Regions from separate parts of the Homo sapiens genome. Here regions 2 and 3 are each linked to region 1. Evidence: promoter capture Hi-C in 16 types of primary human blood cells and fetal thymus (Javierre and others, 2016). All regions are on one chromosome and are shown on one strand. Each heading gives the region's core, a stretch centred on a gene start or on the middle of the fragment in contact. The rest is flanking DNA. Distances are from core to core; before and after follow the strand shown. Region 1 holds the start of SEMA3C (semaphorin 3C). Region 2 has its middle 370 kb from the start of SEMA3C. Region 3 has its middle 340 kb from the start of SEMA3C.

The links. The method cuts DNA at HindIII sites, captures the fragments that hold promoters and counts their contacts. A CHiCAGO score of 5 or more calls a contact.
Region 2: a contact is called between a fragment that was not itself captured here and the fragment with the promoter of SEMA3C in region 1, in 1 of 17 cell types (neutrophils). The highest score is 6.2, in neutrophils.
Region 3: a fragment that was not itself captured here is called in contact with the fragment with the promoter of SEMA3C in region 1 in 1 of 17 cell types (M2 macrophages); the score reaches 6.8 in M2 macrophages.

Annotation. Positions count from the first base shown.
Region 1 is chr7:80,917,511-80,921,100 of GRCh38, reverse strand. It overlaps SEMA3C (semaphorin 3C), which reads left to right and starts at 2,050. Exons shown (of 18, transcript NM_006379.5): 1 at 2,050-2,273. RefSeq lists a silencer at 1,784-1,913 and an enhancer at 2,461-2,530. The HindIII fragment of the contact is 5,149 bases long and covers 1-2,411 here.
Region 2 is chr7:81,289,786-81,293,375 of GRCh38, reverse strand. No RefSeq gene overlaps it. Among named protein-coding and RNA genes, the nearest start is that of SEMA3C, 370 kb to the right of the region's middle. The HindIII fragment of the contact is 4,540 bases long and covers 1-3,590 here.
Region 3 is chr7:81,261,355-81,264,944 of GRCh38, reverse strand. No RefSeq gene overlaps it. Among named protein-coding and RNA genes, the nearest start is that of SEMA3C, 340 kb to the right of the region's middle. The HindIII fragment of the contact is 4,916 bases long and covers 1-3,590 here.

The DNA.
Region 1 (3,590 bases), core at 801-3,300:
AAGCTCCTTTGTAAATACACCGTTTGAGATGCATTTCATCTTGCAACTCTTTATCGTGGTTTTCTCAAACTTAAAATGTATAAACGAATTCCATCTTACGTGAATTTGCTGATCAATTTCTAACAGCTCCACATTTCTAAATTAATTTAATCCACACACTCATCTTTCTAATGATTTATTCTTCTCCCTGCTTAATATATAAATGCCGAATGAGATATCAGAAGGAGGATAATAGTGGAGAGTATATAACCTGGATCTTACTCAGTTTCAGAAGTATTTCAGAGAAGCACGCACAGTGCTTATTCACATTGACATCTGGATTTTAATATTGTCAGTTTTTGGGGGGTTAAATTCCTTATTACAAATTTATGTCAAGGATCTTCTCACGCATCATCACAAAAAATAATTTTAACTGTTGTTACTATATTAATTTTTTGACGTTTGGAGATAATATTAGCCCTGGAATAGTATTTTTGAACTCATAAATTTGCATTATTTGACTTGATCCTTCGTTCCTTGACTATGCAGCGTGAGTCTGAGACACGTGTATGTTTACTGAACACAAGAGGTGGGCCCCAGACACATGAAAGATGTGTCTCACTCACCTCTTCCTCCTACCTGAGATTTCATTCAACTTTCCCACTGAACAATGATTTTGCACCCCCAGAGGGGTTTTCTATGATACAGTTTATAAGAATTTAATGATTGTTTCATTATGTGAATTGTCAGGTATAAGGTGGAGATATTACACTCCACGTTCCTTCTGTAGAGTGACATCTGCTGGGCTGTGCCCCACAGTGATTTTAAGCAAGTGCCTGCTTGTTTTATGGGGATCAAAGCTCATTTCTCCCGATGTTTAAACATCTAGTTTATTGTGGTCCGGAGAAGTAATTTTCACTTAAACATCAAAGTCAGTTCCAGAGTTTAACGAGTGTACCTGAAAGTAATGCTGGAAAAATACCTCTGATGTATTTCTGTAGATGTGTGGTTATGGCAATCTGTTGGCATAACTCAGAACAGCCTCTCCACATAGAATTGTCAAATAATTTCTTCGTGTAATTATGTTTGGGAGTATGGTTGGGGACAACGTACTGGATATGAGTCAACGTGGAGGGGTCAACAGAATTACTGCTTTCAGGGCATTAAGGAAACTCAATAGGAAACAATACCCATTAAAAGGATACACTTGTGCAACAAGATTGTCGTTTATCTTGACCTGTTTTAGAAAACACGCAACAGAGGCCCGGCGCGGTGGCTCTCGGCACTTTGGGCGGCTGAGGCGGGCGGACCATTAGGTCAAGAGATCCAGACCATCCTGGCCCTGTCTCTACTAAAAATACAAAAATTAGCTGGGCGTGGTGGTGGGAGCCTGTAGTCCCAGCTATTCAGGAGGCTGAGGCAGGAGAATCGCTTGAACCCGGGAGGCGGAGGTTGCAGTGAGCCATGATCACACCACTGCACTGCACTCCAGCCTGGCGACAGAGTGAGATTCCCTCTCCAAAAACAAAACAAAAAACAAAAAACAAAAAACAAAAAAAAAACGCAGCAGAATAAGGACAAAACTCACGTCCTTTTAAAAACGCATCTCTTTGCCTTAAAAGGCTGCAGTGATCCTTCCCTGGCAAAAATAAAAAACCACAACTGCTTTGCACTTTGATATTTACGGCCAGGCAAAGCCTGTGTAAGTCTTCGAGAGCCGCCGGCAACAAAAACCGTGGAGCGCACCCAGCAAGTTGCTCACTCCGCCGCGGACTGCGAAAGGAGCAGGGTTGCGGAGCTAGGGCTCCAGCCTGCGGCCGCGCATTCTTGCGTCTGGCCAGCCGCGAGCTCTAAGGGTCGGCCCCGCCCGGTCCGCCCCCGCGGCTCCCTGCCAGGCTCTCGCGGGCGCGCTCGGGGTGGGGCCTCGCGGCTGGCGGAGATGCGGCCGGGGCTGCGCGGTGGTGATGCGAGCCTGCAGGGCGGCGCGCCGGGGCAGCCGGAGCCGCGCGCCGCGGCGCTGTAATCGGACACCAAGAGCGCTCGCCCCCGGCCTCCGGCCACTTTCCATTCACTCCGAGGTGCTTGATTGAGCGACGCGGAGAAGAGCTCCGGGTGCCGCGGCACTGCAGCGCTGAGATTCCTTTACAAAGAAACTCAGAGGACCGGGAAGAAAGAATTTCACCTTTGCGACGTGCTAGAAAATAAGGTCGTCTGGGAAAAGGACTGGAGACACAAGCGCATCCAACCCCGGTAGCAAACTGATGACTTTTCCGTGCTGATTTCTTTCAACCTCGGTAAGCTAAATTGGTCATTTTCCGCATTACAGATTTAGCAAAGTATAACTTTTTTGGCCTGTATATTGATTTTTCATACATTGGTATGCTCAAGCCTGGACATTTTCTTAAGAACACACGCGGTTTGTCAGGGAAGCTTTCCCCTTGCTGAGAGCCCTGCTCGAGTTGTTTCTTTAGGCGGTGACACCTGCGGAGAGTTTCAAGTTGAGTATTACAGTGCCTTCAAAGGCAAAATTGCTCCAGAGGAGATAAGAGAATTCTTTTCTTAATGTGTTGTTAGTTTGCGATCAGCAGAAGTGAAAACACCAAGAGGAACGTCTGTGTCTGAGTTAAAGGGAAGAAGTTGTAAGATACTGTTGGGGAGGCGGGGGTGTATTTAAGACACTTGGCTTTCAGTCTTTCACTCCTCATCACTAGGTGGGATGTAAATCAAATTGCCCTGTAGACTATCTTCGTTTCACCTGCCATTGTATCACCAGTATTCTTTGCAATTGGTTGTATATGTACTTTTGGGAGAAACATATAAGGTAAGATACCAATATGTAAAAAAAATGTGTAAATAATATCAACTTGCTCAGTAAACATAACAAAGGTTAGGCATATTAATAGTTTTTTTCTTTTGGCTTTAACTATGAAGTCAACAGAACCAAGGGGTAAATTACTGAGGGAAAGTCACCCATAAAATCAGTTTCTTTCTAAGTTAATTTAGGGATGACAGGGTGAAGAGGTTGTGGAAGCAGGAAGAAACTGTTTCTTTTGAAAATTACCAACACAAACATCTCTAGAGTTTCCTCCATCTGTGTGGTAAAAGAAGCGTACAATTTCATTTCTAACTCTCATAACATATGCACCACCTAGGAAATCTACTTACAATTTTTGTTTAAAATTGCATATTCCATTTAATTCTTTTTATTCTGTATTAATGAAGCTGTCTTTTTCAGTTGTTAGTGGTTCTTACAAAGAATTTAATAATTTTGACTATGAAATTTTAATTTGAAAAGCCAAATAATGAAGATCAGCATTGTTGTAACCTGTAAAAATAAATTTCTTTACTGGACTCTTGGGTCACTTTATTGTGTAATTATGGTAGAAGCAAAATGATTGTGTTTCTTTAATGGTCCTGAGTTTATTTTACATGATGTAGCCACTAGAGCTCCTGTAGGTTTATGGTAACACATTATCTGGTCTTCCTTGGGATTCAGATATTAGTTAATAGCATGTACCAATTTTATATCTATAGTTTGAAGCAGTGACACCTGTCTCTTTGATTTATCTTTGGGAATTTTGACAGCCCACATTCTGGTTGATTTATTTAAA
Region 2 (3,590 bases), core at 581-3,080, 370 kb before region 1:
ATCTGAGGAAGGAGACAAAATACAGAAGATTAAAGAATTATATTATAAAAAGAATAATGGCTACAGTTATGGCACATGGAGCTAAGAAGAATTAGATACATCTACTAAAAATTGTAGACAGCTGTAATGCCAATAAAACCACCAGCTGAGCTATCAGAATCTGTGACTAAAAATATATAAGAATCAAAATAACCAATCTTTGGGCTGTCAACCTTCTAAGAGTAGGAAGCAAGTTGAAAAAGCTCGTCAGTCTCCAAAGAGCATGTGAAACTGCATAATCACTTCACAGGTAGCTAAAGATGATAATGGAAAAGAAAGAATCACCAAAAGAGAATGAGGATAAAAATGGCTACTCCCAAGGAGCAGAATCAGAGCTGAACATGAGACATATCCCATTCCCAGGATGGCAAGCTATTTAAGTATCTGCCCAAGAAGATCTCAGAAGTTTGAAGGACCACTATCTGCTGTTTTGCTCTGATTCTTTCAATTGCCAGTAGGAGTATTTGTTGCATTTCCCTGCGCTGTTTCACCATTGTATGTCAGGTATGCTGAAGGTAGGACTGTTAAAGTCAGGCATTAATTTGCCTCCCTACTGAAAACACAATGATTTGCATATTAAGGATGGTCATAACAGACATTAAAGACCAAAAGTCTTCAAGGCAATACTGTCCATAGATATGTAGTACTCAAGTGACTGAAGCTACCTCTGGTGACCAGTGGGAACTTGCCATTGGTATAGTTGACTTGGTATTGCTACATGCTCTGTGGGGATGATCCCTATCATGGACATTGTCCAGTTAGAAGATGTGGTATAAAATTTGTCCCTGATTTTAGCTGATGTGATTAATGGTATCAACTCCAACATGAAAGACATTCAAATCAGTCTCAACTCATTGGACAAGGCTGTTTTTGGTGACAGAACTAGCTAGACTTCTTTGTGGACCAAGGTAGTATTTGTTCAATCATTAACACATCCTGCTATATCTGGATTAACGTCTTAGGCCAAGTAGAAAGGTCAGTACAGAAAATTAAGCAGAAAGCCATCTAGCTTTCTAAGATAGACATTGAGCATTTATGGCCTTTGTTCAGCTGATTGGGTCAGACATTGTCTCTGGGGAACATGATTGAGGTCAACACTGAAGTTTGGTCTCATACTGCTGCTTAGAGTCATGTTAGTGGATGCTTTAGTTAAATGCTGCATAAAACAGATTACAGAGATTTTATCCCAACTCACTGTTAATCAGATTAATTATTATGGTCAAACTTAGTTTACCTTTTAGATATGTTTCTTATAAGCAACATATAGTATTATTTTTTGGTTCTATTTAACTATAGCCTATAATATTTGCTATAGGAGTCAGTTAATTGATGTCATTGTATATTTATTTGGATTTATTCATAAAGTACTATATTTATAAATATTTATTTATAAAATATTCATCCCCCTTTTTATTCCTTTTTAAATTGTTCTTTACTTTTTTATGACTAAACGTTGCTTTCTCGTGGTACAGTTTCCTTTTCTAGTATTTGTAGTACCTGTTATATTTCTATCCTCTTCTTGGTTATTCTAAAAAATTTAACATACATACTCTGTTCATCAATATTCAAAAATAACCAACAATTTCATCCTTAATCACATCACTATGAGAACATTAAAACACTTTAAGCTGTGTTCATTCTATTCTAAATCACATCCTATTTTTAGTTATTTATTGCATTATATTATAGAATTTTAACTGTTTTATACATAAAATGTGTATTAGTATGTATCCCTATGTATACCAATTTCCATGCTCATTGTTTAGCATTGTTCCTTGTACCTCATATCTCCTAATGGGATCCATTTCCCCCCCCCCCTTAATTATAGCTTTGGTATTTCCGTTATTCAGGGTCTGTTGGTGGCAATCCTCTCTGTTGTTTAGAGTTTAATTGAAATTTTTCTTCTGAAATTAAAATTGTTTTTTCTTGTTCTGAGAAGTAAATTTTACAGTGTATTTAATGCTAGAGAATGGATATTTTATCTCATTACTTGGGGGTATTTTCATACTCCTTCTACCTTCCGTCGTTTTTAAGTAGTCAACAATTGTCATTCATTTCCTTTTAGGTAGTAAATTTTTTCTTTGGTGGCTTAAGATTTTAAGATACCTTTTCCTTGATATTTGGTACAAACATTATGGTTTTTTTTCTGTGGTTGGTTGTGTATGTCTGTATAATTATGCTGCTTGGGTGTTATTTGATTTCCTATAACGCAATATTAGAATTTTCTCATTAATTCCTTGAAAATTATCAACCAGTAGCTATTTAAATATTGCCTCCTCAATATTTCACCTTTCCAGTGATTAGATATTAAAATTGTTTATTCTCCATGTAGCTTAATTCCTCTTTCATATTATCTATGGCAGGCAGAATTCTATGACAGCTCCCAGATCCTCGTCCCCAGAGATTATACACCTCCTGTGTAATCCCATGGGATAATCACCCTTATGATTAGGTTATATGACACCATTGACTTTAGAAAGAGAAATTAACTTTGGAGAAATTGACTTAATTCTGAAAAAGAAATGGTTTCTTCCTGAAAAATAAGTAAGAAGCATAAAAGAGATCAAACATGAGGGAGACTCTGTTGCTGGCTTTGAAAACGGAGGCTGTCACAAGATGCAGATGGCTCTTAGGACCTGAGAGAAAACCAAACTTTGTCTAATCTGCTTCTAATAATAAATGTTGAATTCTTAATATTAATAATTATAGTTTTTACTCTAAAAGTTGTATATATACACAAGTGTGTATGTATATATACACAAGTGTGTATACACAAGTATATTTACATATATACATAAATGTATATACATATATACACAAATGTATATACATATATACACACATATAGTTCCATTTATATGGTCTATTACATTTTAATGATATTTTCAATTCATTTAAAACATTATTTTTAAACATAGACCTTCATTTATGAAAATGTCGAGGCCTGAATTGAAGGTTGGATCTTCCAAAGATGTGTTTTTTCTGCCTAATATTAATATGGTTTGGCTCTGTTTCCTCCACCCGAATCTCATGTTGAATTGCAATCTTCATTGTTGGAAGAAGGCCTGGTGGGAGGACACTGGATCATGGAGGTGGATTTCTCCCTTGCTGTTCTCATGATAGTCAATGAATTCTCATGAGATTTGGTTGTTTGAAAGTGTGTAGCACTTCTCCTTTTGCTCCCTTTCTTCCTCCTGCCCTCACCATGAAGAGGTGCTTGATTCCTCTTCGCCTTCTGCCGTGATTGTAAGTTTTCCGAGGCTTCCACAGAAGCAGAACCCTCTACAGCCTGCAGAACTAAGAGTCAGTTATAACTGTTTCCTTCATAAATTACGCAGTCTCAGGTAGTTCTTTACAGCAGTGGGAGAACAGACTGAGAACACCAGTATCTAGGGGAATTATCAGAATGAATATGGTTTAAACAATCATTGGTTGGAATATTTTAGGGCCACCTAGGTGCTGTCAATCCTGACTGAAATCCTAAGTGAAAATTGGCTTAAATTTACAAATTCTCAGGGGACTCTATTGTTCCTCGAAAAATACAAATATTT
Region 3 (3,590 bases), core at 762-3,261, 340 kb before region 1:
ACCCTATAGTGGGTGTCATAACTATAGAAGCACAAATTACTGCTCTTGCAGACCACACCACTCATGCTCTGAATTATACCCTAGTGGCCCTCTTCCTGTTAACAGATGAGGCTGATCAGATCAGAAAGGTGGTGTGGTAAAACCAAATGGTCTTAAACATAGTAACTGTTGCCAAAGGAGGCACCTGTGTCCTTTTAGGAGCACAATGTTGTACCTTTATCCCTGACAATCAGAACATAACAGCAGCCCTGCAAGGTGTACCTTTATCCCTGACAATCAGAACATAACAGCAGCCCTGCAAGGAGATAAAGGGAGATAAGGGCAGTTGAGAGCCTTACTGATGATCCCCTGCAGAGATGGTGGGCATCCCTGAGATCTGGCCTATGCTCGACCCTAGTAGTCATAAGTAGCATACCTGGGATCCAGGTAGTGAGCTGTTGCTCTCTGTATTGTTCTTGTTGGTTATGGATTCAGGACTCCACCCTATGGGCACATGTCCCTACCCAGAAGACACCCTTGGCCTAGGGGATGGAGTATAAGGGAGATGGCTACACTTTAGTCAGGAGTAAGCTGAGGCAGCCTTCTGGGGAAGCATGACTCAGCAAGTTTGGAGCACAGGTGCCAACCTTACACATTATGTAACCATGCCACATGAGGCACATTAGGTAACCACTCATGGGAGCTCATGGTTGGCTCAGAGCCACTATTGTCTGTAAAAGGTATAATTACCCTGCTAATGCTGTACATACAGCTTGTGACCAGAGAGAGAATAAAGCCATGTTGCAACTACCTATGATTCCTCCAGTGTTTATCCAGCTACCCACCACCAACCCACTGACTCCCCTCAGACCTCGGCTTGGGCTCAAACCTGAAAACACGGTTAACAGAGAACTTCACATTAAGACCTATTTACCTCACTTCCTTTTGCTCAATACAACATTGAAAAAAATATATAAAAGGAAATTGCCAGGCACACTAGAAGACAAGAACAAAAACCTATAATTTCAAGAGACAAAGCAAATATAAGAAACATATATGACACAAATTTTGGAATTATAGCACAGCAGATTTAAAATAACTGCAATAGCACAAATTATTATCAGAAATGAAAGAGCAGACATCACTACAGATCCCATGGACATTAAAATATAATACAAAAATACTATGAACAACACTGTGTCCACAAATTTGATACTCTAGATAGTATTGACCAATTATTTGAAGGACACAATCTGCCAAAACTCATACAATGGGAGATAGACAGTTTGAATAACATGTATTTATTAAAGAAATTGAAGAAATAATTAATTACCTTCCGAAAACAAAAACACTAGACCCAGATGGAAGCAGTGGTGACTTCTACAAGATGTTTAAGGAAGAAATTATACCAACTCTTATAATCTTTTTCAGAAGATACTGGAAGAGAGAATACTTTTTAACTCATTCAGTGAGGACTATATTACTTTAATACCAAAACCAAAGACATTACAAGAAAACAATACACCATTATTTTCATGAACAGAGATGCAAAAATCCTCAACAAAATATCAGATACCAAGACTGTATAAAAAGTCCAAGACTGTATAAAAAATTATACATCTTGACCCAGGTATGCAAGGCTGGTTCAACATTTAATAATTAGTTAATAAAATTTAGCACATCTACAGGGTAGAAAAAACTCACAAGATTATATGAATAGATGCAAAAAAGCAACTGACCAAATCCAACACCCACTCGTGATATTTCTCAGCAAAGTAGGAATACAGCAGGTTATTTTCTCAACATAATTTAAAAAATCTAGGAAAAAAAATCCTGACAACTAACATTGTACTTAATGATGAGAAACTAGGAGCTTTACTGATAACATTAGGAATAAGATGAAGATGTACCCTCTCACCCCTCCTTTCCAACATTGTACAGGAAGGCATAGCTAATTCAATAATACAAGAAAATAAAATGAAAGGTATACTGATTAAGATGGAAGAAAAAAACTGTTTTTGTTCACAGATCACATGTTCATCAACATGTACAATTCCAAAGAATCAATAAAAAATTGCAAATAACCTAATTTGCAGGATACTAAATTAAATATAAATATCAAACACTTTTCTATATACCAATAATTTGTTAAATTTTAAGTGTTATGATACCACCTCTTATATTAGAACCCCCCAAAATAAAACATATATGTATAAGTCTAACAAATATACAGAAGATCTACATGAAGAAAAGTACAAAAACTCTGATGACTGAAATCAAAGAGAACTAAATAAATGAAGAGAGATTTCATTTTTATAGATAGGAAGACTCAATATAGCCAAGATATCTGTTTTTCCTGACTTGATTTATAGATACAACATAATCCCAGTCAAAATCCAAGCAAGGTATTCTATGGATAACAACAAAATGATTTTCAATTCATATAGGAATGCAAAAGAAACCACAATAGACAACACAATATTGAAGAAGAAGAGTAAAATTGGGGGACTGCTTCCACCTGTCTTTAAGGCTTACTATAAAAACTACAATATCAAGACAGTGTGAAATTGGCAAAATAACAGACAAATCGATCAATGGAACAAAATAGAGAGCCCAGAAAAAGACAAACATAATGTAGTCAACTGACCTTTGACAAAGTAGCAAAAGCAATATAATGGAGAAAATGTAGTCTTTTCAGAAATATTGCTGGAACAATCAAACATCTACATGTGAAAAAATTAATCTAGACAAAGATTTTACAGGCTTAAAAAATTTACTCAAAATGAATCATAGCCCTAAATGAAAAAGGCAAACCTATCACACCTAGAAGATAACAGTGAAGAAAACCTTGATGACTTTGAGTATGGCAATGACCTTTCAGATTTGACACCAAAGGTACAATCCATTAAAGAAAAAATTAATTAGTGAGACTCTCTTAAAATTCAAGATTTCTGCTGTACAAAAATGTTGCCCAAAGAATGAGAAGATGAACCACAAAATGGAAGAAAATATTGCAAAAGACTTATCTGATAAAGGAGTGTTATCAAAAATATAAAGAACTTTCAAAACTCAAAAATAAGATAACAAATAAAAATGGATGAAAGACTTGAATAGGTGTGTCACCAAAGTAGATATACAGATGGCATATAAGCATATGAAAAGATGCTCAACATGAGATATCCTTAGGGAACTGCAAATTAAATCAGGATAACCCAACACACCTATTAGTATAGCCAAAATCAAAAACACTAACAACATCAAATGCTAGTGAGAATGTGGAATAAAAGGGATTCTCATTGACTGATGGTAGAAATGCAAAATAGTACAGCTACTTTGGAAGAAAGTTTCGTAGTTTCTTGCAAAACTGAATGCACTCTTACCATATGATCCAGCAATTGTACTTTTTGATATTTATAAAAATGAGGTGAAAACTTACGTCCACACAAAAACCTGCACATGAGTTTTATAGTAGCTTATTCATAATTGCCAAAACTTGGAAGCAATCAAGATTTCCTTCAGTAGATGAATGAATAAATGAATAAGGTACATCCAGATAATGAAATACTATTCAGCACTAAAAAGAAATAAGCTATTAAGCCAAGAGACATGAA